7 separate regions of the Homo sapiens genome follow, and all the other regions are linked to region 5. Evidence: promoter capture Hi-C in 16 types of primary human blood cells and fetal thymus (Javierre and others, 2016). All regions are on one chromosome and are shown on one strand. Each heading gives the region's core, a stretch centred on a gene start or on the middle of the fragment in contact. The rest is flanking DNA. Distances are from core to core; before and after follow the strand shown.

Region 1 (3,729 bases), core at 280-2,779, 1.7 Mb after region 5:
TTCCTTGAAGTTCAACATTAGGTTGTTAATTTGTAATCTTTCTATTTTTATGTAGACATTTGACACTATAAACTTGTATCTTAGTACTGCTCTTGCTGTATCCTAGAGGTATTGATATGTTGTGTGTCATTCATTTCAAAAATTTTTAAATTTCTGTCTTAATTTCATCATGGACCCAAAGTTCCTTCAGGAGTATGTTGTTTAATTTTCATGTATTCGTATAGTTTCCAGAGTTCCTCTTGGTATTGATTTCTAGTTTTATTCTGCTGTCGTTTGGGAAGATACTTGATATGATTTTAATTTTTTTCAATTTATGGAGACTTTTGTGGCTTAATATATGGTCTGTCTTTGAGAATGTTCCATGTGCCAATGAGAAGAATGTATATTCTACAATTGTTGGGGAAAACGTTCTGTATATATCTATTAGGTCAATTTGGTCAAAAGTCTAATTTAAGTAGAGTGTTTCTTTGTTGATTTTCTGTCTCAATGATCTGTCTAGTGCTGTCAGTAAGGTATTGAAGTCCCCCACTATTATTGCACCTTATTCTTTAGGTCTAGTAATATTTGTTTTATGAATCTGGGTGCTATGGTGTTTGAAGCATACATATTTAGGATTATTTTATTCTCTTATTGAATATATCCTTTATAATTTTATAATGCCTTTCTTTTTTGTTTGTTTGTTTTTTACTGTTTTGAATTGAAATCTGTTTTATCTGTATAAGTATAGCTACTCCTGCTCAGTTTTGGTTTCCATATGTGTTGAATATATTTTTCCACCCCTCTACTTTCAATGTATCTATATTTTTAACCAATAAGATGAGTTTCTTGTAAGTGGTATATAGTTAGATCATGTTTTTAAATTCATTCTGCCAATATATATCTTTTAAGTGGAGCACTTAATCCATTTGCATTCAATGTTAATATTGATAGATAAGGTTTTATTCCTGTCATATTGTTCATTGTTATCTAGTTATCTGGTAAATTCTATTTTTTTTTCTCTGTTTGCTCAGTGGTTTGGTGGAGTTCTGTCATAGTGCCATTTGATTCCCCTATCTTCCTCCTGTGATTTGTAATTGTTGTATAAGACCTGAGAGTGTTTACTTTCGTGTATTTTTATAATGGCAAATATCACCTTTTTGTTTCAATATATTGGACTCCTTTAGCATTTCCTGTAGGTCCACTCTAGTGGTTATGAATTCTCTCAGTGTTTGCTTATCTGGGAATGACCTTATTTCCCCTTCATTTATGAAGCTTCTTTTAGCTGGATATAAAATTCATGACTGATAGTTTTGTTTTTGTTTTTTTTTCTTTTTTCTTTTAGCACTTTGAAAACAGCATACCATTCTCTTCTGGTATGGAAGGTTTCTAATGAGAAATCTGCTGTAGTTTGATGGGTTTCCTTTGTAGGTAACTAGACACTCGCAATTTTAGGATTTTTTTCTTCATATTGACTTAGACAGTCTGATTCCTATATGTCCTGGCAAAGTCTATTCTGCGATGTGTTTTGCTTGTGATCTTTGGGCATCCTATACCTGGATGTTTAAATCTCATGCTAGACTAGGGAAGTTTTCATCAATTGTTTCCTTAAGTAGTTTTTCTAAACTTTTTGCTTTTTTTTAATCCCTCAGGAATACCAAAGGATTGTAAGTTTTGTCACTTTATGTAGTCCCATACTTTTTGAAGGTTTTTTTTTTATTCTTTTAAATACTGTTTTATTTATTTTTCTTTGACTGGATTAATTCAAAAGACCTGTCTTCAAGTTCTGTGTCTCTTTCTCCTGCCTGGTCTAGTCTACTGTCGAAGCTTTTAGAAGTATTTTGTAATTACTTCAACGAATTTTTCTTTTCCAGGAGTTTTGTTTGTTTTTTAAGATATCTATCCCTTTGGTAAATTTCTTGTTCATATTTTGAATTGATTTTCTGATTTCTTTGTAATGGTTTTCAGATTTCTCTTGCATCTCACTGAGCTTCTTTAAAATCACTATTTTGAATTCTTTATCTGGCATTTTTTAGGATTTCTTTTTGGTTAGGATTTATTTCTGGAGAATTACTGTGTTGTCATAATACCTTACTTCTTAATATGATTATTTATTTTCATCTAAACAGTTGCTTATTTTTGAAATTACTTTCATTGGGGTGGGACCTTTTTTCCTTGAGGATGTGATTATGATATATGTTGAGTAGAGCCATTTGGCATTGCTTCTGGGTGTATTCAATGGTGAAGATCCTGTATTATTTCCTTGATTATAAATAGCCATATCAGTGTGGTGGTTTATCAAATGTTGGTTGTAGTAGTGGAGTACTGGACAGGTGAGCAGCCTCATCGACTCTTGAGTAGCCAGGGTGGCATGGGCAATGGTGATAGCAGCGGTCACAAGAAGCTTATCTCCTTCTCAAGTGCTGTGCATTTGTGTCAGCACATGCTGTGATGGGCTGTGCAGGTCAACCTCCAAGCCAGTAGGTAGTGGGTATTTGCAGGTAAGAGCAGCTGAAGTGGTAGCGATATGGTTTATGCTTGATTTTTGTTAACCAGAAGTACTTGGGTGTCCCAGGCAATGGGCTGGGCATGGAACACTCAGTGTTCTGGGTCCTGTGCTCAGCCATGGTGGGGAGTTTGATACTGGATGGAGCTGATCTTGGCAAGCCTGCACTCAGGTCCCCCAGTAGTGGTTGCAGGCACTAGCCCTGCTGGGGGGATCCAGAGGCAGTCACTATGCTGCTGGAGAAATGCCTGGGCAAGGAGCAGAGCAACCACTGCTGCACCAAAGTCCCAGGAACAGGAGCAGAGAGTGACGCTGCCACCAAGGTCAGATAAACAGGAATGAGACAGGTCTCTCCCTCACTCTCTAGACCCAATTGGGCTCACTCTCCAGACCCAATCGGGCTCACTCTCCTTTCCCTACCAATGGAGCCAGTTGGAACATTTAGTCACATGCAGTCTGCTTTCAGTCCTCAAGGCCATCCAAAGCTATAATACTCATCATCTGAGCCAAAACCATGCCTCTCAGGCAAATCTCCCTCTGCTCTCGTCCCACGAAAAGGGGGTGCCCAATTCCAGTGCCCATGGCTGGAGCCCACACTCCACTCATCTCTCAGTTCTGGCTGTGGGGCCCCTCCTCTGCTTGAAACCCAGTACTCCAATATCCAGACTGAAACTCTTATGCCAACAGCTGCCACTGCTGCTAAATTCCAGGATTCTGCATGGCTTGCTGTGAGCTAGCATCAAGAATGGCACTGTCCTGTCAGCACCCAGGCCTGAGAAGATGCTTTGGAGGCATTCCAGGGCCGTTTCTTCTCACAGTTTCCAGGCTGCTTCCCATGTTAGCTCTAGAGCTTAGGAGAGTCAAGGTCCTCTCCCATGGCTAGGGTTGCGCAGTTCTCCAGTGGAGAGATGAATCACAAAGAAACACTCACTCACCCTTTCCTGTACTGGGGATTCACTCACAGTTTTTAGCCAGACCCCACCATGCAGGCTGCCTGCCCACTTTCTCTTTCCCAGTATCTGAAATTGTCTTTCGCTTTTCTGTTGAATTCTCATGTTTCTTCTTGAATGAAATTTCACAGTATGACTCTCTACACACTATTTTGCTTCTTCCAAGTGAGTGAGACATGCTACAAAAGCCTCTAATCTACCATCTTGGAAAAACAAAAACAAAAACAAAACACCGGAGTGTATTTTCTGACTGCTGATGTCTTTCATCAACTCTGAAAATTCTCAGTTTTTATCTCA
Region 2 (3,322 bases), core at 656-3,155, 1.7 Mb after region 5:
CAACATGGCACATGTATACATATGTAACAAACCTGCCCATCATGCACATGTACCCTAAAACTTAAAGTATAATAAAAAAAAGAAAAATGCTTTATTAGAGAATTATTGAAACCAAAAATATGGAAAGCTCGCATTATTCCAATTAAATCTTTATGTTATGAATAAAGTGTGGGTCAAAACCATAATTTTTGATATCTGTCAATTAACCATCATTGACAAAGGACCCCCTTAATTGGAAGCCAGTAAGTATTCTTCAATATGGGGGATTAACTATGAATTCCTCCCTATTCTCTTATAAAACCACACTACAGTAAGAGTTAAACTCAAACTCTTATAAAGCCATAGGAAGACTGAACGGGACAGGAGACAATTATCACACTCGGGATGGTCACAACATCTTAGAAATGAAAAGCGGAAGAGACTTGGGTTTTGACATCCTCTGTTCTATGGCCTTACAGCAAAAAGAAACTAATAAGGACCTAGCAAGGTTCTGGAATCGTAGGTGCGAAGTACCACAGAGGGTAGGGAGTTTTGTGGTGAAGTGAAAAAAACCAGGTGACTGAAAATCTATAGGAAAGCACCTAAACCCTCCAGCTCCCCACCCCGCCTGCTCAGGCAACTGCTCCTCTCCTACTTTGATCAAAGACAGGCTTCATTACCTGAATAAACTGAAATAGAAAGCCACTAGATTTTACAAACACAAATAAAAATACCTTACAGATCTGGAGGACTAAGTGAAAATCTGAATACCAGAAGGTGAGCTCAATGAGGGCAGAGACTTAATACCTGTGCTGTTCACTGATGCATCTCCATCACCTACAATGGTACCTGGTACATAGAAGTCACTCAATATGCAGCAGTAGAGTTTAGAAGATGTGTTTTTTTTTTTTTTTAATCTCCAAAAAAGTAGAACAACAGCAACAAAATCAAGAATAGAAAGCCAGAGAGAAAAATATAAAATTTGAACATCAATCTAGGCGATTCTGACCCACAGAAGTATCTAGAAAGAATAGAGAAAACAAGGGCGGAGGGCTACGAATACAAAGAAATAATGCAAGAAATTTTGCAGAACTAAAGTTTATAGCACACACAAAATAAATGAAATTTCAGAATACCAAGAATAAAAGACAATATTCTAAAATATTCATGTTATTTTAGGTAGAAAGGTCACAAATAAGAATCAGAAATAAGAACGGTGCTGAACTTCAACAGCAACCCCGAAGCTAAAATATAATGGAATAATGCCTTCTAAACTCTGTGGGAAATGGTTTTTAACCTAGAATTCTATACCTAACCCAAATAACAATCCTGCATAAGAGTGAAAGTAGGAATAAAGATGTTTTGAAACACAGGAGGTTCTCAAAATTTACCTGCCACATATCCTTTTTCCCTCTACTCTCCCAAAAAAGCAAATGCAGAAATATTCGTTTCTTTTAATGGAATAGAAAGGAAAGTACTTGTATCTCAGAAGCAGGTAATATAGCACTGAAGAGGGGCCAGAGAAATTCCCAGGATAAGCAAAAGAAAGTCCCACCATGATGGCTCTTCAGAGGCTAAAGATGACTAGTTCCAAGTAGAGTAAGAGAATAGGGCGCTGCCTGAAGGAACAGTAACAAAACAAAATTCTTGGATTTATGTGTCTCATACTGCGGATGGTTCATCAAGAGAGTTTGGGGATAAATTAATGACAAGGACCCTGTCTTATAAATTATAACAGCAACAACAACAACAAAACTAGGTGTCTTTTTCCAATTAATTCTGAAAAAAAATGTTAGATGGGCTGGGCACAGTGGCTCACGCCTGTAATCTCAGCACTTTGGGAGGCCAAGGTAGGTGGACTACCTGAGATCAGGCATTCAAGACCAGCCTGGCCAACATGGTGAAACCACATCTCTATTAAAAAATACAAAAATTAGCCAGGCGTGGTTGCGTGTACCTGTAATCCCAGCTACTCAGGAGGCTGAGGCCAGAGAATCCCTTGAACCCAGGAGGCAGATGTTGCAGTGTGCTGAGATTACACCACTGCACTCCAGCCTGGGCACAGAGCAAGAATCTGTCTCAAAAACAAAAAAGTTAGATGGAAAAAGAAATGATAAAATATTGCATGGCTTGAATATAACTTTCTATCATAATATATACTGATGTCCCCTAAAGGTAGTAAAAGGTTACATAGAAAGGACATGCAGAGAAAAAATATAGAAGTGAGGTGTAAAAGAATTAAATCTTCACCATCCAAAGTCAAAAGCCAATGGATAATGTTTAAAATGAAAAAATTCAAAGCAATGGCCATATAAACATGGAATTTAAAAAGAGAGGTAAACAGTAAAACCAAAACAAATAGCTTTTCTTAAGTATATCTGGGAAATAAAAAGGGCATGAGAGATTGGGGCAGCAATTTGATATTTGTCTTATAACAGTTGTAAGACTATTTTTTAAACTATATTTTATAAAATATAAGTTGAATTTTTTAAAAAAGAATTTTCTCCAGTAAACAACCTAATTGGTTACTTCTTATCTCAACAGGATTATGGATTATGGATCTCTGGAATAAAAACATTTAGTGTCACAGCAAAAGAAGTTTTGAGTTTATATACAAATTAAGTAAAAGACTAATTTTGGTTTTGAAAAACTCGTTCTCTAAACTTTTACAGGAAGTTTAAATAAATTACATCATGAACAAAACTGCAGTATGCCAGTTCCTATCCTCATGACCTCACGATTCTGCCTGAGCTCCACATCAATGAAAGGAAAATCGGATAATGAAGCACTTAGTCTAATATCTCAATAGCAACCACCAATTAGGATTACTTTTTAGAAAAGAAAAAAAAACCTAACCTTATATGTAAATGTATCTAGTGTGCAAATGACATAATGCTTATATGTATGTAAATCTATCTAGTGTGCAAATGACTTAATGCCGGGGTGGGTAAACTGTGGCCGAGAGTACCCCAAATCCAGCCCACTCCTGCTTTTGTAATAATTCACCAGCTAAGAAATGTTTTCATATTTTTTTAATAATTGGGAAAAATATATACATTTTGTGACACGTGAAAAACCACACAAAATTCAAATGTCAGGGCTTGTAAATAAAGTTATATTGGAATGCATCCTCATTCATTAATTTCTGCATTGATCATTGTTTTCTGGGCATGGCTAAGTTGAACAGTCATGACAGAGATTATGTAGCCCACAAAATCTAAAATATTGACTATCTATCTCCTTTCAAAAAAAAGTTTGTTGACCCCTGAGATAAAGGACTAATTCTGAATTCAATTTGAATTTTACTTCAAATTATTGAGCCAAATTTGTATGTTAAAATGTA
Region 3 (3,600 bases), core at 6-2,505, 1.6 Mb after region 5:
AAAATAATAACACTTAAGCTACCTGGAAAACCTTCCGATCCCATCAAAGTTGATCATTCCCTCTGTCCTAAAACCACTCTGTGTATCTTTTTCTATCTTTTGTCGACACAGTGCTGCATTGTTTATATGACTGTTTTCTCTGAATTTCAGAGAGCCTAAAAGTCTGTATATGATTTCTTCTCCCCAGTCCCAGGCTGACACTTCAATTGCACATACATAGATTAGGTATAACACTAAGGGTCCTTATACTCCCTAGAAGAATGGTAAAGACAAAGATTAATGCAGATGCAAATTGTAATTTCTTGGGTGACCACTAAAAGAATAGCAAAAGACAATTAGGCTATAATTTTCAAACTAGTAGGAAATTAAAACAGAATGATAAAGCAAACTAAAGTAAGACTAAAATGGAAACCAAAGGAACAGACACAACAAACAGAAAGCTCATAAAAAGGTGATAGATTGAAATCTAAATATATCAGTGATTATTTTAAATACTAATGGTTTAAATGCTGAAGTTGAGTCAACAATGTTCATACTAGATTTTTAAAAAAATCAACAAACTATATGATGCTTAACATAAGACTTCTAAAAGTTTGAAAGTAAAAGGTTTAAAAATATACATTATATAAGCACTAAAAGAAATCTGATGTGTTTAAAATTTAACATAGCCTTGATATCAGAAAAGTAGGTTTCAAGACATTAAAAAAAGATAAAGAATAGTTCCATTGATAACAGGTCTACTTTGCTAGGAAGATAAAACTTGTTAAATATGTATACACCAAAGTTACATGGTGTATGTCAAAAAACATAAAGCAAATTTGATAGAACTGTAAGGGGGAACATTTACACTCACCATTATAGAGGGAGGTTTTATCACAACTCTTGGAAATAGAGTAAGTATAAACAACATCAGATTGTAAAACATGACTTGATCTGAACTCTAATTCCTGAAGGCTTCACTAGAGATTTATCACATATTTAAGGGAAAAATAATTCCAATATTACACAAATTCTTCCAGATAGAAAAAGACAAAATATCCCCAACTCACTCTGTGAGATTAATGCTATCATCATTCCAAAGCTTAATAGAGACAGTTTTTTAAAAAATTATGGACCAATTTTATTCATAAAATTGGACGAAAATCCTAAGCATTAGAAAGTCAAATACATCTGTCTTTAAAAGAAAAACACAATCATGACTAAACTGGGTTTATCTCAATAATTCAAAGTTGATTCAACATTCAAAAAATCTATGTTAAAGTCAGCATATTACCAGATTAAATGAGATAATCATTTTAATCTATTAATAATAGATTATTAATAGGATCATATTTTATAGATGCAGAAAAAATCTGTTAAAATTCACATTCTTTCACAATAAAATAATACTATTAGCAAATTTAAAACTAAGGGTAAAATAGAAAGCTTTTTTTCTGAAAATAGCAAAGAGAGAAAGATACCTATTATTATATATTTAATATTGCATCAAAAACCATAGGCAAGAAAGAAAAAAATATACAAATAGGAAAGGAAGAAATAATCTAATATCCATATGTTTGACTGTATGTACAGATACAGTTTCTATGTATTCTAAAGATAAGTTAATATAAACCAACATAAATTTAAGGTTGTTGAATAAAACATTAAAAAGAAACCACTAGAGATAAAATTTTTTAAAATATCATTTACAACAGCATGAAAAATCAAATACTTAGAAATTATTCCGGCAAGATTTCTCCATAGAAAACCTATACAATTTTAATAAGAGATTTAAGAATACTTGAATCAGTAAGAGGTAGATCATATTCACGAATTATAAGACTTGAAATTGTAAAGATTCAATTTCCCTCAAACTGAATGCAATCCCAATCAAAATTCCAATAGGATATTTTTCTTGAACTTGACCCACTTGCTTAAAAATATATATGGAAATGCAAAGAGACAAGAATAGTCAAAACACTCTTAAGAGAAAACAAGGGAGCAGGATTGCTCTGCTATTTAGAAAATCTTATATAAGGCTACAGTGATTAAAACAACATGGCTCTGGTGCAAAAATAGACAATTCCAAAACAGACAAATATAAAGCTATGACAAAAAGCAGTGGGGGTAAGGATGAAGTTTTCAGTGTTACTAGGACAATTAGATATGCACATGGAAAATATAAAATATAATTGTAACCCTACCTTGTACAATATATAAAGATCAAATCCAGGTAGATTATAAATTTATAGGAGAAAAGTAAAATAACAAAACTTCTAGAAGAAAGGAGAATGTATCACGATCCTAGGGTAAGGAAATACTCCTTAAACAAGACACAAAAGAGTAACCTTAAAAAATGGCAAATTGTACTATATTAAAATAATTCTATTTATCAAAACACTCTATTAAGGGAATTAAAAGTCATGCTACATAGGGGGAAGATATTTTTATAACACATATAACTGAAAAAAGGACTATAGCAGAATATATGAAGAACTACTGCAATTAGCAAAAAACCCCAAAAGAAAAATAAGCAAAAGATCTGAACAGGAATCCATCTAATAAATGAATGAAAAGGAAAAGGTATTGGTCTTACTGGCAACCAGGGAAATGCAAATTAAAACCACAAGGAGACATTGCTATACACCCACAGATTAAAAAGTTAAAGACTAACAATATCAAGGATGTATAGCAAGGATATACTGGAATTCTCATACACTGCTGGCAAAAACGTAATATTATACAGTTATTTTGGAAATTGGTTGGGATTATCTGGTAAAGTTAATGGCAATGTTTTACAGGCAGCTTCTATAATTAAGATGGTCCCAATCATCCTCACCTCCAGCATTCACATTTTTGTGTCATTCTCTCCCCATGAATAAGGGCTGGACCTACTGGCTGGCTTCTGATGAACAGAGTAGGGCAAAAGTGATGAGACCTCACTTTCAAGATTACGTTTAAAAGGCCTTAATTTCCATCTTGTTGGATCATTCTGATGAAGCAAGATGCTACTTTTTGACCTGCGCAAGGAGAGGTCCACACAACAAGAGACTATGAGAGCAGCTTCTGTTGACAGCACACAAGGAAATGGGTTTTTCCAACAACCACAAAAGTGAACTTGAAGCAGGTTCTTCCACAAGCATGCTCGAGATGACTGCATCCTTGTAAGAAACACTAAGCCAGAGAACCCAGCTAAGCCATAGCCAGATGCCAGACCCACAGAAACTGAGATAATATTGTTTTAAACCACTAAGTCTTGTGCTAACTTGTTACACAGCACTAGCTAACTAGTACAAATGTAAACCATGCTAGGTTGTCCGTATTAACCCAACACCACAACTCCCTTCCACATTGGAGAAAAAAGCATCCTCTTTCCTGTATGAGTTCCAGGTTGTTATCCGTGGTATCTCCTTTGAGCAACTCACATGAGATAAAGGGCCTAAGTGCCCTAGATCTCAGTCCTGAGTCCTCTCCTATCTACCTGAACTCACTTTGGTGATCTCCGCAAGAACCATGGCTTTTTGAACCTTCTCCCAGCCATAGCCTTTCCCGTATCTGTTGTAGGAGCTCTGTCCTCCTAGTTGATCAGCCCAAAACCCTTGGAGTTTTTCCTCAATTGCT
Region 4 (3,515 bases), core at 341-2,840, 1.3 Mb after region 5:
TGCCCGTGTGACCTGGAACAATGCATCTAATCTACCTTTGCCAGAGTTTTGTCACATACAAAATGTGGCTAATAACATCTATATAAAGTACTGCAGAGGGCAGTGGTAAGGATCAAACGAGACATGAAGAATGCTCAGGATTGTTCTTAATGTTCTTGTGAAAGGTGCAAATATACCTGTGAAAGGAAAATAAATCTTGCAACCCCCATATCACTAACAAAGGGAAAAGTCAAGCTAAGTACTGCAGACAAATCTGCCTCCCATTCTACTCCTAAATAAAACAGCTACAAAGATTAAAAAGATAAATACCTCTCTCCCACTTTGTCTGCAAAGAAACTCCTTGTGGATAAAGGACAGACAGAACTCAGTCATCTTTCTGCTCACGTGAGACAAATGCATATCTGATTGCTTCCTTTGCCCTATTGTTTCACTAAGCCAGACTAAGGCATAAGTGACTATTCCTGTAAATCGTATATTCAGTGACAGGCTAATCAGAAACTTACAAGAATGTAACCATTTGTCTGTTATTTACCTATGACCTGGAAGCCCCTGCCCCACTTCGAGTTGCCCTGTCTTTCCAGACCAAACCAACGTACATCTTAGACATATAGATTGATGTCTCACGTCTCCCTAAAATGTATGAAAGCAAGCCGTGCCCTGAACCCCTTGGGCACATGTTGTGAGGACCTTCTGAAACTGTGTCAGGGGTGTGCCTCCTTAACCTTGGCAAAATAAACTTTGTAAATTGATTTAGACTTGTATCAGATATGTTTTGGTTTACATTCTAAAGTCATCAGCTACGTTGTTATTTTCAGGACAAATGAACTCTCAATTGCTTAACACCTAACAGGTAGTTCTCACTCAAATTCAGCTGTAGGTCAATGAGGGGAGGAACACACAGAGGCCCCTGCTCAACATAGGCTCTCAAGCATCTAGGTTGATGGACACTCCACTCTCTGGAACATCTGCAGTACCTGCCGCAGCAGAGGCAGATGGGGATCATGGGCTGGGTCCTCCGTGTGTGGACCCGTAAGTGACCCATCAGTACCGCCCAGAAGCAAGAACAGCAAGGGAGTTGGAAAGTGCAGGGGAGCAGATTAAGTGATTGACGAACCTCCTGTCTCCGCGACGGATAATAATGGGATCTATAGAGAGAATGGCAGCAAGTAGAGACACAGTTGAAAAGACGTAAAGGTCACAACAAAGTCATTTCTGGAGTCAGATTTCAGAAATATAAATTTTTGAAGGAATGCTGTTGAATTAAATATTTTAACATAATACTCATTGTTTGACTTCTGAAAAGCAGTACTTCCCAAAACTTTATTATTACTTTTCATGTTTTAAATTCATGTTTCAAACTTTTTCACGGATTACAGATGGAAAGAATCTTGTTTTTAGAATCAAAAGTTGATCTTAGCCATTATTTTCAGTGTGAACGTGTTTTACGTACCAAACCTGCACTTCTTGTTTGCTGCCAGCAGGGGGAGGTGTAAGAATTCTTTAAGCTTCCTCACTAAACTTAAGAGAAGCTGAAAGGGGCAGAGAAAGTGACCGATTATTAATCATTTCCCTAAAATCAGCAGGGTTTCCTGCAGAGAGACACTGATTATCTTGGAATGTTTTGAATATAGGATCCATTAGAATAACAAAAAGCACTTGAAAAAAAAAAGCTTGTGTAAAGATGCTCTAAGTTTTTCTCTGGTTTTGTTTCATTTTTCCAAAATAAAATTTGTGACTATAGACTGCTTCACTTTTGGGGGGATGAGCTCCTGTATATTTCTGACATAGAAATACAGAAACGAGTCACCTTTATCTGAGCCTATGAATTCTCTGATTCTGTTAGGGAGCTGAGTCCTTCATTCTTTTCTGCTGTTCCTTAAAATTTCTTACACTTTCCCAGGAGTAACTGCTGATGTCCTATCAGTGACTGCACTACACCTTTGCTATCCTGCTGATTATTCATCAATGTCCTTTCTCCGTGATTAAGAGGTGTCACATCATCGCATATGATCAACTTCCTGACTTTTACTCAGGGGTTTAATGGAAGGGATTGTTTTTTGGTTTGTTGGTTTGTTTCTTTGGCCTCTCTAGCTCATAAGAAAAAGTATCTGAATTATATGTAAATCTTATATTTTCTTCTTAGATGAATTTTAAAGTGTGTGTAAAATGAAGAAAATATTACACTAGAGTAGAGGAAAGAGAAGCTAATAAAATTTTCATCTAAGAATAATTTTATTGTTTTTCTGTTCTTTTTTTCTGGTTGTCACTTTGTGCAATCAATCCAAATAATTCAGATCACAAAACTATCTCTTCCTTTGATTCTCATATAATATGGTACTTAGTTAAGTCTTTGGCATTTTGATCCAAACGTTTTTCTAAACCTTCTATCTGCTTTTGTCTATATAGCCGTGGCTATATAGACGATCTAGAATGTGGCATATTGTTCATCTTTTACGCTCAGTGAATTATGAGATTATCTAATTTGTTGCATAAATACATACAGAGGTATCTTTATGCTAGAGTTACAAAAAGTTACACTGCATTATTCAGAATTTTAAAAACTTACTTTAAAAAATTAAGTCTACTATATAACTCCATATCCTATTGCTATGGTTTGGCTCTGTGTCCCCACCCAAATCTCATCTCATATTGTAATCCCCATAATCCCCACATGTCAAGGGAGGGACCTGGTGGGAGGTGATTGAACCATGGGGATGGTTTCCCCTATGTTGTTCTCACGATAGTGAGTGAGTTCTGACAAGATCTGATGGTTTTATAAGTGTTTGACAGTTCCTCCTTCACAGGCTCTCTCTTGCCTGTTGCCATGTAAGATGTGCCTGCTTCCTCTTCTGCCATGATTGTGAATTTCCTGAGGCCTCCCTAGCCATGTGGAACTGTGAGTCAATTAAACTTCTTTTCTTTTTAAATTACCCAGTCTCAGGAAGTTCTTTATAGCAGTGTGAAACTGACTGACACATCTATCATGTATGATTTTGGAAAAAAATATTATCAAAATAACTTCAGTCTCTAATATGTTTACTAAGAAATTATAATTTTAAATTGCAATTTTCCACAACTTTCTTACTTTCGTTTTTTGTTTTTCTGTTTGTTTAAGAGATGAGGTATCACTGTGTTACCCAGGGTAGACTCAAAATCCTGTGCTCAAGTGACCCTCCCTCATCAGGCTCCTGAGTAGCCGGCACTGCAAGCACACACCATCATACCAGTTTCTACTTTCTTTAAAAAGTGTTGCTTTAAATATTTGCTACTAGGAATAAAGTCTTATGACAGACATATTAACTTTTAAAAGAAGACAACCTTAGATCAGAGTCTCTTGAAAGATTAAATGTCCTCTGTTAAATGTAAACAGTTCACCAATTTGGGAACATCTGTTCATACAGCTGGAGTCTAAAATATTTGGATTGGCTTGACAGTCATCCACTATAAGACTTGCTGCAGTGTCAGCAGTGTCTATTCTGCCTTCTTACCACCTTCTTCCCTGCCAAGTCTTGCTC
Region 5 (3,698 bases), core at 729-3,228:
ACTCAAAATAGTTTAGGATGGCTGGAGCAAAGACTGAAAGGAGTTTCTAGGCAAAAAGGAAGGTGTCTGATTTATGAAAGTCCCTTTATAGGATGTTAAATAATGTGTTTTATTCTAAAGATAATGTGGAAGTTGAAGATTTTAAGCAAGAAAGTGACATGATTAGATCAAAATTTTAGAATTACTGCTATTAAAGGCAATGATGATGAGGGCAACTGAAGATGAACTGAGATGGAGGTCAGCATAAAAGGCAAAGATATTAAAAGGCTTTTGCTATTATTTAGGAAGAATAAAAGACTTTAAATAAGACAGTGACAGTGGTATGAGAGATGGATGGGCAAAGTTTGAGCAGTCAGGGAAAGAAGTAGAAGCGTTCTCTGTGGAAAATAAAGTGAACAAATGTTTGGAGAAAGGGAGGGTGAGCAAATCAGTTTATCTGGGGTATACAGTATTTGATAGAAGCTTTGGAAGGCTGAAGTGGAGAGCCAGAGTAATGGAGTAGCTGGTGATAAGGTTGAAAATATTGGTGGCGTCAGCCTGTGGCAAGGCTACAACAAACAGACTAAACAAATATAATTTTAACTTTCGGCAGTATTAAATTTATAAACAATTTTTATTGTAAAATACATATAAAACCTACCGTTTTCATTAAGTATATGGTCCACTGCATTAAGTACATTCATATTGTGCAACCCACACAACACCACTCATCTCCAGAATCTAAATCATCCTAAACTGAAACTCTATTATCCACTGAAATATAACTCCTCATTTCCCCTTCTCCTGGGCACCCTCTCCACCCCTGCTCTTGCTACCATTCCACCTTCTGTCTCTAGGAGTTTTGACTACTCTAGGTACTTAATGTAAGTGGAATCATAATATTTGTCCTTTCATGTCTGGTTTATTTCACTCAGCTAAATCACTTTAATCAACACCCTGGTTATTCAGTAGCTGGATTCTAATTTGTATTCTACTCTATATGCTGTATTTTAAAACAAATGTCTTGCTTTGTAGTTCATAATCTTTCCACCTAATCCTTAAAGACACTTCACTCTAGCAAATTATAAACTCAAGAGTTCCTAAGAACAATTTAGCCTATCGGTGTCTCTCATAAAGAGCTTTTATTGATCTACTTACTGAAAATGTCTTTAGATTGTGAATATTTTCATTCCATTACAGTTCATGGAACGTAGACCCTTTGTAAAATTCCACCTAGTATCTAAATAGAACTCAAGCAGGAATCAAACTTATTTGATCACCCAGGAAAATAGTTTATTTATTTGGGTTGCTAATATGAAGACTCTCTCTTTTGATACTATATAATTTCCCGATCTGAGATAGGGCTGAATTTGCTCTAAATAAAGAGAATTTTAAAAATAACAAAACTTATCTTTAGCTGGGGGAAAGTGCAGGCTGGAAACTACCTGAGAGACGTGAAGGTTCTCTCACCTTTCCCTTGTGGGCAGCCCTCAGTCATTAGGGCTCTACCAGCAAGTCAAGTACTGTTGGACAAGACACTAATCCTCTGGCGGTCTCATTGGGCTCCATTAGACCAGCCTGTGTTTACAAACCTCGTTCACATCACAGCATACACAGAATATGATACTGGTAGGGCACTTAGGTAAACTGAGGAGGTAGTGTGCTCGGCACCTGGAACCTACGGGCCGCCTGGTGTCGCGCACGCGGGAGTGTACGCTCTCAAAGAGCGATCCATCCGGCAGGACCGTTCCAGCTGACAGGCCACGGCCGTCTTACCGGGGACGAGCTGGGGTTCCCGCTGTTTCTGAAGTCAGCGGTCTTTTCCTCCTTGTAAGAAATAAGGTCTTTATATCATAAAGGTAAGCAAAGAATAAAAAGGCACAAAGGCCGCAAGCAACGCACACACGCAAAAATCGAACTACAGCACTCGACCCGCGCATTCTCCGCCGACCTTACGTCTCTCCCAGCAGGCTCCGGGAGCCACCGCGAGACTTCATCAATTCTCGCGAGATTTACCGGCAGCCATCTTCTTGGGGGTGCTGGGAGCCGGGAAGACCCCCTGAATCGTTCCCATTGAGCTGCCCTTCGCCTTCGCTTTCTTTACTTTTGCCTTTTCGACGTAGCCAACAAGCACCTGGTCCCGAGGCTGAGAGAAGGCTCGGGTCTAAGCGCGTGTCGCGCTTCCGGTCTGGGTAGATTTGCTGGGGAAGAGGGAAGGGGGAGGGCCCGGGCAAACCGTTGCTGTTTCAGCCCGGGCTGGGGGCCGGGGACGGGGAGCTCCTGGCACCCCGTGCACTTGTGGCCTGCGGCGGTCCTTGCAGAGCTGTTCGCCGACCGGGGCCCGCGGGAACCTGCCACCGGCGCCTCCCACCGCGGCCCACGCGGGCGGCGCGCGGAGGAGGGGGCGGGGGCAGCGGCGGCTGTAGCGGCCGCGACCTGGGCGGGCGGAGGAGTGTGACGGGCCTTAGGGCCGCTGTGGATGGTTTCTAAAATGATCATTGAAAACTTCGAGGCACTCAAGTCCTGGCTCAGCAAGACTCTCGAGCCCATGTGAGTATCCGGGGGATATCTCTTTGCAGGGATGGCAGTGGGAGATAGGCGGACCCAGAGATCTGTGCAGTTTCCCCAAGTGCCTGCGGTGGAGGCCGAAGCGGTGAACGGAGGTCCCAGGGTTCTGTGGCTTCTCCTCCTCGTCCACCTCGCTTCCAGATTCAGGATACCCCCGAGAGCCTGAGTCGAGCTTTATTTTATTGCTGAGCTGCTCTCGTTTTCCCGTTATATATAGACCGTCTCCAACCCCCACCCGCAATATTTTCCGGGGGCCTCAAAATCGGTTTATTTTAGTGAAACCGACTGTATTTTACTTCCTACAGATTATTTTACCTTGTTTTTCTAAATGAAGTAGACGGCCTTTATTGGGGATTCGGGCAGTTCTAGCTTAAATCACTCACGTTTCACCTAAATATAATTCCTGAAAGCAAGGCCACGTCTCCCATGTGCTGTCTGGCTCATCTGCACCTCTCTTCACTGATTGAAGATGTAACAGGTGCTGAGGTGGCCAGTAAAATTCCCCTTTCCCGCCTACGCGTTCGTTAGCTTGGAGAGGAGGAAGAAAATTGAATCTTCATCCATATGGAATATTTAGCAGTTTTAAGTGGGATGCTATAGATAGATTTTGTGTTGGGGGCTGCGGTTAGAGTGCTGAAATAGTCTTAGATTGGAAAATTTAAGGAGTGTTTTGACGACTTGTTAATACAAAATATGACATGGACCAAAGTGCTTAATCAGAATTGGTTGATTTACAATAATGCAATGGGGAAAATTCACGTATTTAATAAAGTTATTAGGTACCTACTGTATACTACGGGAGGCTTTGGGGATAGAGCTTTTAAATTCTAAAATCGACAAGACATAAATAAATCCAGATATTAATAGAGTTGTGACTATTGTAATAATAGAGAATCATGTAAAAGTGATTATGAGGGGGGCTATTTCACATTGGTCAAGGAAGGACTCTCAGAGAAGGTGACATTGGAGTAACATCTAAAGAGAAGGGACCATGTGTGTCAAAGTCTTGGAAAAGAACATTCCTTGCAAAAGGAAGAGCAAATGAAAGGCCCTGTAGCAGAAGTGATTGTGGTGTGTTTCAGGAAGAGAAAGGCCACTGTGGCTGGAAAGAGCCTTGTGATGAGGGAGAGGATATAAAGGCAACAAGTTGG
Region 6 (3,752 bases), core at 842-3,341, 1.7 Mb after region 5:
AATTCTAGAGTGAAAGTGTGCACGAATGTCCAGTATATTAAATAAAATAACCCATACCAAGGTACAACATGACATTTTAGAATACTAGGAATAAAGGAAGCAAAAGAAAAAGTCAAAAAGGATTAGATATCCAAACACAGTGCACTCAACAGCTAGAACATAACAGAAGCTAGAACAAAATGGAACAGTGCCTTCAAACATGAGGGAAAGGTTAACTTAGACTTTTATAGCCAGTCCAACTATGAATCTTATGTAAGGGCAGAACAATGACATTTTCAAATACGCAGGATCTCAAAGTGTGCCTCTCCTGCAGGTCTCCTTTCTCAGAAAGCTATTGAAGGCTGTGCCCCACCTAAGAGAATAAAAAAAATACAAACGAAAAGGATTTAAGAAGAAGGGAATCCACATTGCCAAGAAACTGAAAGAGTTCCCATGGCAACAGCAGTATGCATCCAGCTTAGGGGGCAAACAGTAAAAACTAGAGCAATGAGATTAAGAGTTTCAGAGGGGATAGCACTACAATATAAATTTTAAAAAAGCAGATTTAACAGACTGCCAAATGTGTATGACCTTAATGAGGGATTTTATGGCTCCTTTAGCGTGTTTGGGGAAATAATTTCTGATAGGTAATTAAAGAAAGTGAAGAGGAGAGAAGAAGTGCCATTACTAACTCTTGGAGGAACAAAGGGGTCAGAGAAAATACATGTTTAACATGCAATTAACAGGACTTAGCTAGTAAATTATAATCATAATGCAGACATTAAATATAAAAGAAAAACCATAAAAACCATTATGAGAAGGGAAAAGAGATATGGTAGTCAAGGGTGAGAGGAAGAGAGCTAAGTTTTCTTCTTTCATAATAAGTCCATAGATGTCTAAGATCATAAAAGTATAAAGACTGTTTAGGAAAAAGAAACAGCTAGTAGAGTATAAAGTGATGCCTATGTGAAGGACTCAGCAGGAGGAGGGAGTAGAGGACTGCTTCCTGTAATAAGCCTAACAAGGGGAGTTTTGAAAACTACTAACATGTTATTATATTATTTTGATAAAACTGTTGAGGTGCTATACAAATGTATGGCATTAAGACAGAAGTGATCATTTTCAGAGTCAGTCTCCTGACAGTGAGCAGGATAGCTTTGAGCCTAGTGTTTCTATGACTTGGCCTAGAGCTGGATTTAAAGAAAGAAAAAGCCCACAATAACCCTGAATGTTTCCAATGAAGTATGACAATTGTCTAGAAAAAAAAAGTCTCAGTTATTCTCAAAATATTTGGTTCTAAAGTCATCTTTTTGCAGATAATACAAAAAACTAGTTATAGAGATCATGTGGCTAAAAACTCCTTGAGTACAACACAGCTCCAAAATTAGATAGGCAAGGTTTTTAAAAAAAAAAAAAAATCTGTATTTCTCCTATATAGCTCTAACCCTCCAAAAAGTCATTTTAAAAATCACTTTATTCAATGTCATTAGAATGCAAGTAACATTTACAATGTCCTATCTGGCCATCATTAGTACATCATACATTCTAGTGACTTATAAACATTTTTTTCAACTTCAGTAGTTTCATTAATGGTATATTGGATTCTGGCAAGAGCATCTGAAAAGTCTTAATCTAAATTTTCAGAATTCTTCAAATTATATTTGAAATATACATTTCAAACTACTATTTGGAATGTCACTCTAATTTTCTTTAACTTTTCTTAAATTGCTTCCAAACCACACACACCAGAAACTACTATCCTTCTCATAGAACCCCTTCTTTTCCATACACATCACATTCTATGCTGGGAGAACAAAAATAATATAAAGCCCATGATAACCCTGAATGTTTCCAATGAAGTATGACAACTGTCTGGAAAACAAAGTCTCAGTTATTCTCAAAATATTTGGTTCTAAAGTCATCTTTTTGCAGATAATACAAAAAACAAATGGTACAGTCACATATGTATACACACAAGTATATATTTTATGTGTGTATATATACATATAAAACCTCTGTATATACAGTTTCTATGTATATATACATATAAAACCTCTGTATATACAGTTTCTATGTATATATACATATAAAACCTCTGTATATACAGTTTCTATGTATATATACATATAAAACCTCTGTATATACAGTTTCTATGTATATATACATATAAAACCTCTGTATATACAGTTTCTATGTATATATACATATAAAACCTCTGTATATACAGTTTCTATGTATATATACATATAAAACCTCTGTATATACAGTTTCTATGTATATATACATATAAAACCTCTGTATATACAGTTTCTATGTATATATACATATAAAACCTCTGTATATACAGTTTCTATGTATATATACATATAAAACCTCTGTATATACAGTTTCTATGTATATATACATATAAAACCTCTGTATATACAGTTTCTATGTATATATACATATAAAACCTCTGTATATACAGTTTCTATGTATATATACATATAAAACCTCTGTATATACAGTTTCTATGTATATATACATATAAAACCTCTGTATATACAGTTTCTATGTATATATACATATAAAACCTCTGTATATACAGTTTCTATGTATATATACATATAAAACCTCTGTATATACAGTTTCTATGTATATATACATATAAAACCTCTGTATATACAGTTTCTATGTATATATACATATAAAACCTCTGTATATACAGTTTCTATGTATATATACATATAAAACCTCTGTATATACAGTTTCTATGTATATATACATATAAAACCTATGTATATATTTTCTATATATATACATATAAAACATATGTACATATATTTTCTATGTATATATACATATAAAACATATGTATATATATTTTCTATGTATATATATACATATAAAACATATGTATATATATTTTCTATGTATATATATACATATAAAACATATGTATATATATTTTCTATGTATATATATACATATAAAACATATGTATATATATTTTCTATGTATATATATACATATAAAACATGTATATATATTTTCTATGTATATATATACATATAAAACATGTATATATATTTTCTATGTATATATATACATATAAAACATATGTATATATATTTTATATGTGTATATATACACATATAAAAATATATATGTGTGTGTGTATATATATATATATAATTTTTTTTTTTTAGACCTGCCACTGAAAAGTAATATGTGGTAATTTTCAGACAAATAATTTTAAGAGCCTTCAATCTCTGCAAGTTTTATTTTAAGGAAAGCTGAAACATCAACACTAATAAGCACGATCAACGAATCTTTAGTTCTCTGTAACAGTGTTTGAGTCACTGGCACCTGCTAGGATCAAACTAGATAGCCACTACAATACTTAGTTCCAACAGGCTCTTAAAAGGATACATGAAGTTCAAGCGTTACTTACTAAGCTGTCCTATAACAAACTTTCCCTCCACCCCCAACCCTGCCTCGCCCAGTTGCAGGTAAACTACTTCAGCACCTCACTTCAACATTTAAAAGTTACTTATTTCAAACACACGTCATACACTTCAGTCAACTCCATTTGCTCCTAGAAAACATTGTACATTTTCAATTAGCACTGTCAAAAAGGGAAGCACCCTCTGGTCTTTTCACTGAAAATCAATTATGCAAAAAACAGTTTAGGTGGTCTAATTTAGTTGTGCCATATGTATAGCACAAGGTGTTCAACAGCTTTGATGAAAAATTGGCAATGATGTTAGCCAGCTGTCTGGGGTCTTGGTATT
Region 7 (3,682 bases), core at 1-2,500, 1.7 Mb after region 5:
TAATGAAAATTTATTTTGAGTTTCTACGTTAGAAATGTTTTCAATTTTCTATTTCCACATAAGGATTTAGTGTTTTGCAATATAAAAAAGGATTAGTGTCAAAAGAAAAACTCAAGTTTATAATCTTCCTAATCTTTAGGAATTAAGGGAAATGTTCTTAATATTAACTATATGTAATTCTATATTTTTTCTACTCAGTTAATATCAGAAAATGTTGATAAAAAACATTTTATGTAAATTCAGTATTGGATTATGGGAGGACTTAGAATGACTATTGTGTTTCCAAATGGCCTTGAGACCAAAACAAGGTTTAAAGGAAAAACAGTGTACAGAGTAACAGAGGGGTGTCTATACCAGAGCTTAACAATGACTATCCGGTACAGAGACTATTGGTGATCACTCGGATTTTTTCTTTAAAAAAAACTTCCAAATTATCTGCATTAAACATACATATTATTTATATAACTAGCTTTTCAAGGTAGGAATATACATGTTATTACTTTAATATTATTTTTTAAATTAATATAATGAACAAAAAGGAATTACACCAGCCATGGGCAGATGATCTCATTCTTACATTACCTCACTTGTCTAATTAATGTACTTCTCCCCTCCAAAATTACCACCCCTTGTATCTCCATGTTCTTGGGGTCACACACACACACACACACAAATCCCAAATCATAAAAGCTTAAGTCACACCAAACATGATTTACTCTCCTCTCATGAGATACAAATCAATGCGCTAAGCAAAATTCACTTTTCTGAAAAGTAATCATTTAGACATGTACTAAGCAGAAGGAATAATATAAAAAATATAAACAAGGCTAAACTTCAAGAAATAACTTGGTTTGTATTCACTGGGAATTTGACAAAACTTGAAAAACCAAGTATTAAAAGGACTGCTTTGAAATGCATGCCCCCAGACCACTTTTAATGAGCAATGCTAATGAGCAATCAGACAGCTGAAAAGTGCTTTAAAATGGGCAGTGGGATGGAGAGAAAAAAAAAAAACTGTGGGATGTGGACAGTCAAGAAAATAATCAGCTCCAAACTGGGATTCTTCAGATCCTTGCAAAACACCAAGTTTACTTAAAAAAAAAAAAAAAAAAATTCCTTTTACTTCAGAATCATTACGTACCAACACATTCTAACAATTACATTAAAAATATCTTTTCCTTAAGTATGTGGAAGAACTAGGCAAGGAAACCACATTCGCAATGACAACACTTTCAGAATCCACACATTTCATGAAACTGTGAAGCCTGGTTGCCAATTGACACCAGTCGTATATGTCACTTATCCAACCCGTAACTTACAGTGGTTAAGCAGCTTTTCCCAATCGGAGCCAGAACACAGACATGCACTTCCAGTTCCTTCTCTTCTATGTAGGTCAACTTGACTCCAGAATACACTACAAACTAGGGGTTAATAATGCAACACACACTAGGTAGCTGTTCTCACATGTTCAATCTCTATTATTCAAAGTTTCTCATTAAAAATTCTATATTTTAAAAGACCAATAGTTCTTTGTGACTGCTATCTTGCCTAACAGATGATGTTATTTTATACCAGTCTGATCACTTGCCAGGCAAATTACAGTAACTGCGTGTTCTCACCCACAGATGCGGGCGGCAGCACATCACAAGTAAGCAGCATTCATCACTCTGCACAATAACCACTGTGACCCAGCCTCCCTGCACAATTGACACAGTTATTGTGGCTATGACAGCAAGATCCCAACTAGGAACACAATTAGCGTCTATTGCAAGAAAGAATGCTCTACATTGTTGTTTAGCATTGAAGCTTTTCAGAAAGGGGAGGAAAATTATTGTAAAGGCAGGCTAACAAAACAATAATGCTCCACTAGTGCCCAAGGTTACAGTGGAGGAGGAGGAGGACAGGAGTGGAAGCTATCACATCCTAGTTGTTCTTCAGTACATAGCTAAAGAATTGTAACAGGAAGCACTTTTATAAAGAATAAAACAAACAAAAAGAACTTGTAAAAAAGAGCAATTTTATCTTTTTCAACCAATTATCTCAGTGGATTTTTGGTATATAAAATGATGTGAAATGATTCAAGAGGCTCAGTGATGACCGAAATAGCTCTAAAGAAAGGAGTGAGGCAATTTTGCCAAAAGAGAAAAAATGGGTGATCCATTTTTGAACAACAGTTAAATTTCCCTATACTCCTACTCCAGAGTTCTATTTATAAAAAAAGGGGGGGGGGGCGGTTCGCAAACTTGGAAGTGGCATAGACTATGCATTTTTTCATTTTATTCCAATCCCTAGAATAGCATCGAACTGGCCCCAAACAGGACTACACACTGAATCAATGTACGATACTTGGCACAGTTTTCTTTCCCAAATGCCTTAAGCTAAACTGCCTCCCAGGACACTTCTTTCTGCATAATCTCTGTAGTTCTACCGCAACTTCCTTAACCACTCACCACCTCTCACCAGATTACTGCAACCTGCTCTTCAACAAACTTCCAGCCACCAACACTGCCCTGAGCAAACCTGTTCTGAATGTCATGTATTTTAACTGTGTTACTCTCATCAATTAAAGTACCGCAGGGGCTTTTCATCAAATGCAAGACCTTAAAGGTACTTCAGCTCATTTCACTACCACCCTTACAGACTGTCATTTATCTCATGCCCACCTCTACAGTGTCTCTGAAGCTACCCTAAGGATGCACCCTTATTGGTTAAACTTTATACTTCACCTCCCTTGTCTGACAATCATCTTCTACTGAATGAATGTGATAAAGTACTAAATTGTAGACTGATACCTCATTTTTTTTCAAAAATATAAGTTGAGGGTGACTAACGGTCTCTTATTTTTTGTACATTTTCAAAGTTGCTTGACTGAAAAGATAAGTTATAACACATCTGTGTAGTTATTTTTGTATACCATTAAGCAAAGTATGACCAAAAAAACTAGATTCGATAAATGCTCCCGTGATAAAATCAAGAAAATCATAAAAAGGCAGACGACAGAATGGGTTTAAGGAACAACCTAAGTTTCTTTAATTTGTCACACTGAAAATTATTCTGTGACCAACAAAAAGTTCCCAGAAACAATGACATTCCTACCATTGCTTGATCATCTTTGCTTAGACTCAAAGTATTCAAATTGTTGTTAAATAGACATGTCTCTACACATAATCAAAATCAAATTTAAGAAAGCAATTACTTAATTCACATAAAAGAAAAAACTGATTTAATATCTTAGAAGACTCAAAAGGTCGGTAGTGCATTAAACTAAAGAGTTCAAAAATAAAGCAACACTATAACATATTCTGGCAACAATCCTTTTCATTCTTCTCACTACAGTCATTTCAGTACCTAATATAAGACTTGGAACACAGTATGCACTCAATAAATGCTAAATGTGGTCAAAATTTTGGCAAGTTGACTAATATTTCCTTATCTCAAACCATTCTACCACTCCTATCCTGACATATAAATTACTTTGCCCAATTTTTTAAACTTAAGTATAATTCTGTTAACTCTGAAGACACATAATAGTCTAATTAGATGTTTCAAACCAGCTAAAATCTCGGTGAAAAATATACCTGGAGAAGCACTTCATTAATACTTTCTAGTAACTACTAAGTTGCTGAATTTTATATCAATCTTCCGGTTTCCAACTAAATGATGTTATATTACTAAGGCCTAG

The links. Contacts are between HindIII fragments. The CHiCAGO score rates a contact against its expected background, and 5 or more counts as called.
Region 1: a fragment that was not itself captured here is called in contact with the fragment with the promoter of RBM26 in region 5 in 1 of 17 cell types (total CD4 T cells); the score reaches 7.4 in total CD4 T cells.
Region 2: a contact is called between a fragment that was not itself captured here and the fragment with the promoter of RBM26 in region 5, in 1 of 17 cell types (naive CD8 T cells). The highest score is 6.6, in naive CD8 T cells.
Region 3: a fragment that was not itself captured here is called in contact with the fragment with the promoter of RBM26 in region 5 in 1 of 17 cell types (erythroblasts); the score reaches 5.3 in erythroblasts.
Region 4: a fragment that was not itself captured here is called in contact with the fragment with the promoter of RBM26 in region 5 in 2 of 17 cell types (total B cells and naive CD4 T cells); the score reaches 5.6 in total B cells.
Region 6: a fragment that was not itself captured here is called in contact with the fragment with the promoter of RBM26 in region 5 in 4 of 17 cell types (non-activated CD4 T cells, total CD4 T cells, naive CD8 T cells and 1 more); the score reaches 9.9 in non-activated CD4 T cells.
Region 7: a contact is called between a fragment that was not itself captured here and the fragment with the promoter of RBM26 in region 5, in 3 of 17 cell types (naive CD4 T cells, total CD4 T cells and naive CD8 T cells). The highest score is 7.0, in naive CD4 T cells.

Annotation. Positions count from the first base shown.
Region 1 is chr13:77,678,491-77,682,219 of GRCh38, reverse strand. No RefSeq gene overlaps it. Among named protein-coding and RNA genes, the nearest start is that of SLAIN1, 17 kb to the left of the region's middle. The HindIII fragment of the contact is 552 bases long and covers 1,254-1,805 here.
Region 2 is chr13:77,721,504-77,724,825 of GRCh38, reverse strand. All of the region lies in intron 2 of SLAIN1 (SLAIN motif family member 1), which reads right to left. Among named protein-coding and RNA genes, the nearest start is that of MIR3665, 25 kb to the right of the region's middle. RefSeq lists an enhancer at 538-667. The HindIII fragment of the contact is 6,197 bases long and covers 1-3,322 here.
Region 3 is chr13:77,769,567-77,773,166 of GRCh38, reverse strand. No RefSeq gene overlaps it. Among named protein-coding and RNA genes, the nearest start is that of EDNRB-AS1, 48 kb to the left of the region's middle. The HindIII fragment of the contact is 344 bases long and covers 1,084-1,427 here.
Region 4 is chr13:78,119,645-78,123,159 of GRCh38, reverse strand. All of the region lies in intron 1 of OBI1-AS1 (OBI1 antisense RNA 1), which reads right to left. Among named protein-coding and RNA genes, the nearest start is that of OBI1-AS1, 67 kb to the right of the region's middle. The HindIII fragment of the contact is 165 bases long and covers 1,508-1,672 here.
Region 5 is chr13:79,404,535-79,408,232 of GRCh38, reverse strand. It overlaps RBM26 (RNA binding motif protein 26), which reads left to right and starts at 1,978. Exons shown (of 22, transcript NM_001366735.2): 1 at 1,978-2,529. The coding sequence starts at 2,459. It overlaps RBM26-AS1 (RBM26 antisense RNA 1), which reads right to left and starts at 1,924. Exons shown (of 7, transcript NR_038991.1): 1 at 1,756-1,924. RefSeq lists enhancers at 1,693-1,992, 1,322-2,313 and a silencer at 2,223-2,422. The HindIII fragment of the contact is 7,810 bases long and covers 465-3,698 here.
Region 6 is chr13:77,703,290-77,707,041 of GRCh38, reverse strand. The region is part of intron 1 of SLAIN1 (SLAIN motif family member 1); the gene reads right to left. Among named protein-coding and RNA genes, the nearest start is that of MIR3665, 7.0 kb to the right of the region's middle. The HindIII fragment of the contact is 6,755 bases long and covers 1-3,752 here.
Region 7 is chr13:77,739,078-77,742,759 of GRCh38, reverse strand. The region is part of intron 2 of SLAIN1 (SLAIN motif family member 1); the gene reads right to left. Among named protein-coding and RNA genes, the nearest start is that of MIR3665, 43 kb to the right of the region's middle. The HindIII fragment of the contact is 1,116 bases long and covers 693-1,808 here.